2 separate regions of the Homo sapiens genome follow, and region 1 is linked to region 2. The links are contacts of gene promoters, found by promoter capture Hi-C in blood cells and fetal thymus (Javierre and others, 2016). All regions are on one chromosome and are shown on one strand. Each heading gives the region's core, a stretch centred on a gene start or on the middle of the fragment in contact. The rest is flanking DNA. Distances are from core to core; before and after follow the strand shown.

Evidence for each region. The method cuts DNA at HindIII sites, captures the fragments that hold promoters and counts their contacts. A CHiCAGO score of 5 or more calls a contact.
Region 1: the fragment with the promoter of LPIN1 here is called in contact with the fragment with the promoter of DDX1 in region 2 in 2 of 17 cell types (non-activated CD4 T cells and naive CD8 T cells); the score reaches 10.2 in non-activated CD4 T cells.

The regions. Positions count from the first base shown.
Region 1 is chr2:11,745,188-11,747,887 of GRCh38, forward strand. LPIN1 (lipin 1) reads left to right here and starts at 1,445. Exons shown (of 21, transcript NM_001349206.2): 1 at 1,445-1,484. It overlaps LOC124907735 (a long non-coding RNA gene), which reads right to left and starts at 272. Exons shown (of 2, transcript XR_007086220.1): 1 at 1-272. RefSeq lists enhancers at 1-185, 2,697-2,700 and a silencer at 1,124-1,693. The HindIII fragment of the contact is 2,521 bases long and covers 1-2,380 here.
Region 2 is chr2:15,590,461-15,593,160 of GRCh38, forward strand. DDX1 (DEAD-box helicase 1) reads left to right here and starts at 1,408. Exons shown (of 26, transcript NM_004939.3): 1 at 1,408-1,489. The coding sequence starts at 1,474. LOC124905975 (a long non-coding RNA gene) reads right to left here and starts at 1,309. Exons shown (of 2, transcript XR_007086224.1): 1 at 1,000-1,309; 2 at 1-872. RefSeq lists an enhancer at 1,447-1,506. The HindIII fragment of the contact is 5,190 bases long and covers 36-2,700 here.

The sequences.
Region 1 (2,700 bases), core at 195-2,694, 3.8 Mb before region 2:
CCTCCACCGGTTCCATTCATCAGTAAGCCTGTGGGTTTTGCCTCCAAATCTCTCTGAAGTCCTTCCGCTTCTTGCTGAGTAGCCCCTGTAATCTGAGCCACCATCATGTCCCCCGGTTTCCTGCAGTGCCACCTGTCTGCTGGCTTCTACTCCTGCAGTCCATTTTCCATGGAGTGGAGGGGTGACTTTTTAAAGAAGTAAATTAGATCATATAATTCCCAGGTTTAAAATTCTTTTTGGACCAGGCGTGGTGGTTCACACCTGTAATCTCAGCACTTTGGGAAGCCAAGGTGGGAAGACTGCTTGAGCCCAGCAGTTTGAGACCAGCCTGGGCAACATAGGGAGACCTGGTCTCTACAAATAGTTTGAAAAATTAGCTGGGCGTGGTGGCATGCACCTGTGGTCCCAGCTACTTGAGAGGCTGAGGCAGGAGGATTGCCTGAGGCCAGAAGGTGAAGGCTGCAGTGAACCGAGATTGTGCCACTGCACTGTAGCTTGGGTGACAGAGTGGGACCCTGTCTCAAAAAGAATTGGTTTGGAATAACATTTAAATAATACCTAAACTCCTTGCCTTGGCCTACAAGACCTGAATATTTGGCCCCTGCCTTCCCTCCAGCCCACAGCACCGGCCCCAGGACCTTTGCACCTGCCATTTCTGCTCTCCAGAAAGCCCTGCCTCCTCCCCATCTTTGTAGTCATAGGTGTTTCTTGTCATTTAGAGTTTCAGTTCAAATATGACACCCTCCCATTGATGGAAATCATTTCACCACCAGACGTTATGTGGCTCATTGTTTATCCGCTGCCTGCCTCCCGGCTGGAGAGGCGCAGGGAGCTGCCTGTCCCTCCTGTTCAGAGCCACCGTTCCGCACCTGGACCACCGCTTGGCAGAGGCGGGAGTGGAGGCTGTCACCATCAGGATGAAGGACAGGGGTGGCCCGGCGTGGAGAAGCTAAGAAGAGATGGCGATAGGTCAACGCGATTGCGCCTTTAAGGTGGAAGAAACGAAGGGCGAGGGTCAGTAAAGTCAAGGACGGGCTCAGATCCCGCCACTGGTGATAAGCGGGACCCATAGGACCGACGTGATCGCGGCCAGGCCCTGGGTGGTTTACCTGGACTTTTACCTGGCTGCCTTTTCTCTGCACCCCTCCGTCCTCACTCCCCCAGTCATCGGCATAGGTCAAGTCAGAGTGTTGAAGAAACACACGAGTTTGGCTCTGGAAAGGAAAATCAGAAAGGCGGCCTAAGGGGCCCCACCCCCAGGAACGCTAAGATAGGCGGCCAGGGGTGAGCGGGCAGGGCCGGCCAGCAGGCCCTGAAAGCAGCCGGGCCACCAGCGCGTCCCGAGTCCCCCTCGCACCGCCCCGCTTGCCCCGCCCCTGCCCTCTGCCCCCGCCCCTGCCCCGCCCCCGAAGGCGAGCTGCGCTGACAGCCGGCGGCGGGCTGGGTGTTTGCAATACAAAGGCGGCCACGCGCGGCGCCGCTCGGTGAGTAGCCGCCGCCTCCAGCCTCCCGCTGTGGAGCAGGGGCCGCAGCCTCGGGTTAGGCGGGGCGGGGCGCGGCGCCGGGGCGCTGAGGACGCGTGGCGAGGCGGGGGCTCGGCCCCGGGGCCCGAGGACCGACGGCCGGGCTACGTCCCCGGGGCCCTCTACGGGAAGTGGTTCGGGGGAGGGAGGCGGGGAAACAGGCCCCGGAGGCCGGGAGGGCCTCGCGAGCATCCCTCGGGCCTGGCTTTCCTGACGCGCCGCGAGGCCCGGTGTGGGCCCGGCTTGGCTGATCTCGAGCGGCGTAGGGGCCACTGGGGGCTGCCGCGCAGTCCCAGAACCGCGGGGACTAGCTCCAGCCGGCCAGCGCGGGTGCGTCCTGGCTCTGCGCGATCATCCCCAGCTTTGCGCCGGGGACTGGGATGAGAGCCTTTCTTTCCCCCGGAGTTAGGATTCCAGCGCTGCAGTTGAGGAAACTGAGGCTCAGGGAGGTTGACCTCTGTGCCCAAGGTCATACAGTTGCCGGGCGGCAGGGCAGGCTGAGCCCAGGTTGGAATCCCGGTTCTCATATTACAGCTCTCCCCTGCGAGGCCTCTGCACCTTTCTTGCAGCCTAGGAGGTGCTAGGCCTAGTGAGCTCCGTCAGCTGCTCCTGCACGTAATTTTATTATGGGCAAGGCCAGGAAAATGCAGGATGAGAAGTAACGTTTTGGGAGTAACTTAAGTGCTGTGGAGCTAGAGTAGGTAATTTGTGTGGTCAGTAGTTGCTGGAGAAAGCAGATGTCAACCCTGTTTTTGATCAGCAAGCAGGAAACCAACTAAGACAACTGGCAGTATTAATTTGGAGATGTTTTAGAACCCGGCAGTTTCCCACAGGATAGAAGTGTTTTGGGAAATCAAAGCTTGTAGCCGTTTTTTTAATTGGGGGTGTTGTGGTATGGTGGTCTAGGGGTAGTGATTGTGAGATTGACTGTTTATCCTTTGTTCCGTAATTTGGGTCTTATTAATGAAAGTAAGCAGTTGAGGAATGTATAGTATTTGAGAAATAAGCACATCCACACATGAACACTTTTCTTGCTCCCAGATTCTTGTTGAAAGGTGTAACAGTTGGATTTATGATTATATACTTTGATAGCACTTCACGTTTGCCAGCATTTGTTATTGAGTGTTTTTGTGCATGGGTTGTGTGTTTTGGCGCTTATTATTCCTATTTGCATGTG
Region 2 (2,700 bases), core at 158-2,657:
CCTATTTCACAGGTAAGTAAACTGAAGCCCAAAGAAGCTTCATGACTTGTTCAAGGTCACACAGCAAGCAAGTGGCAGACCTAGAATCCAAACTCAGAATATGGTTCCCAACTCTGTACTTCTAACCCTATTCTATCTTTTTTATTTTTTATTTTTTTGAGACAGACTCTCCCTCTGTCGCCCAGGCTAGAGTGTAGTGGCACGATCTCAGCTCACTGCAGCTTTCGCCTCCCAGGTTCATGTGATTCTCATGCCTCAGCCTCCGGAGTAGCTGCAACCCTATTCTTTTTTCTTTTTTTTTTTTTTTGAGACGGAGTCTCGCTCGGTCACCCAGGCTGGAGTGCAGTGGCGCGATCTCGGCTCACTGCAACCTTCGCCTCCTGGGTTCAAGCGATTCTCCTGCCTCAGCCTCCCGAGTAGCTGGGACTACAGGCATGCACCACCACACCCGGCTTCTTCTGTGTGTGTGTGTGTGTGTGTGTGTGTGTGTATTTTTTGTAGAGAAGGGGTTTCACCGTGTTAGCTAGGATGGTCTCGACCTCCTGACTTCGTGATCCGCCTGCCTCGGCCTCCCAAAGTGCTGGGATTACAGGCGTGAGCCCCCGCGCCCGGCCGCTGCAACCCTATTCTATCTTGCCTGAGGGTTCCACTTTTCTCCATGACACTCTGGGGCAGGCTACAGATAGCACAGCACGCGCCCTCGCATTGCGCAGATGTGGCTCAGATCCCACGCTGCCATTCGGTAGATATGTGTCTTTAGATAAGTGACTTAACTTTCCCGAATTTTAGAGTCCTCATCTAAAGATTCTAATACCTTCCTGACAGAGTGAGTGTCTGGTTGGGAGGATTCCTCATTTACTTTCCCCATCTCTCTGCAAAGAGAAAGGAGTTAAAATTGCATGGAAGTCAAACCCGAAATTATAAAAGCGACATCAAACATGGGTGAAGGGAGGGAGACCTAAATCATTACTTAGTTTAAAAAAAAAATGTAACAAATACCTACTGGCTGCCAGGCACTCACTGGCATTGGTGCTCAGGGCAATGAATCCAGTCCATCTCTCCGGGTCATTCACACACCAAGGCCCTGCTCACCTTTGGAAAGCTGGGGGACTGAGTGGGGAGGGCACGGTGTGGTGTCAGCCTGAGCCCACTGGATGACCCTAATCACCAAACATCTGCTTCCTTCTCTGTAGCTGTGACCCTGATACCGCGTGGTGTGCTCCGAACACATGGTGCCCAGAACGAAGGCGGCGTCCAGAAGCCCTAGGTCCCAGAGGTCCGCTCAGCGGCAGGCGCATAAGGCGGGGCCGGCGCGGGCCTTTCCTTCCATCGGAACCGTTCTCCCGGGGCTGAGTCCCTGCCCGGACTCCGAACGCCGAAGACCAGGGGCCGGAAGCGCGCGCCGCCACTGCCACGCCGTGTCAGTCGGGAGGGAGGGAGCGAGCAGGCGAAGCCGCGGAGGACGGGGTGAAGATGGCGGCCTTCTCCGGTGCGTTTGTGGAAACTCTGGGGGTGGTGGGGCGGCTTGTTGCACGCCTCAGCCCTGGGGCCGCCCGCGGAGAGCTAAAGGGGCGGGAGCGGACAGGGGTCAGGGAGACAGAAGGGCGCTGTCCGCTGCAGTCCCTGATGGACCCGCGTTGCGGGATCAGGGGCGGCCGCGGCTCGGGTTCGGAGGACGATTCTTCCCAGGAGCGGGCCGGAACGTCCCTCCCCCTGCCCTTTCCCTTCTACCAGTCTCCACTTGGCTTTCCTGCCAGTGCACCTTCGGCTGCAAAATCTAGGCGGCGGCGTTGCTCTGGCGGCTCCCAGACGCCTGGGCCTCCTGCCTCTTAACGTGGCAGTGACCCTTTGGGAACCCTTTTCTGCCCGCGGCTCATCTGGGCTTGGCCAGGCAGAGAGGCGAGACGGCGTGGGGAGGAGTCATTGGGGAAAAATGACGATCCTGCCTCTGTCCAGTTTTTTCAGGCCCTTCCAAAACGTCCCAGGCATAAACCTGATCTTTATTTGTTCTTAAACGTTGTTATATCAACATTAATGTTCAGTGTTGAAGCTAAAGGGAAAGCATTTTCATTAACGTACGCACCAGTCCAACATAAGTTTGGAAAATTCATATTTATTTGCCGTCTGCTACCCTCCTTTATTCCAAATATGATTTGATATGGCTTATCGAACCCTACAGTTGATATTTTCGCCTCTTGCTTTATCATCCTCCTGTTAGGCATCCAGTTTTAGGAAGCTGTAATCAGCCTTAAATGCGCTAAACGTGATACATTTATGTAGCACTTATGTAACGTTTATTGCTATATAAATGTATCACGTTAGGCCTAATGTCCTTTAATGTTATTAACTTTTTAAGATGACTTCAGATGTAGTATTTTATATTTTTTAGTTTTCTTCTGTAAGAATATTAGGAATTCCATATCTCCAGTCATGTAAGATATTTTTTTTCTTTTTTGGGGGGGAGAATGGGGGGGTGGGGGGATGTAGTCTCCTTCTGTCGCCCCAGCTGGAGTGCAATGGTGTGATCTTGGCTCACTGCAGCCTCCACCTCCCAGGTTCAAGCAATTCTCCTGCCTCAGCCTCCTGAGTAGCTGGGATTACAGGCGCCTACCACCATGCCCTGCTCATTTTTGTATTATTAGTAGAGACGGGGGTTTCACCATGTTGGCCAGGCTGGTCTCGAACTCCTGACCTCAGGTG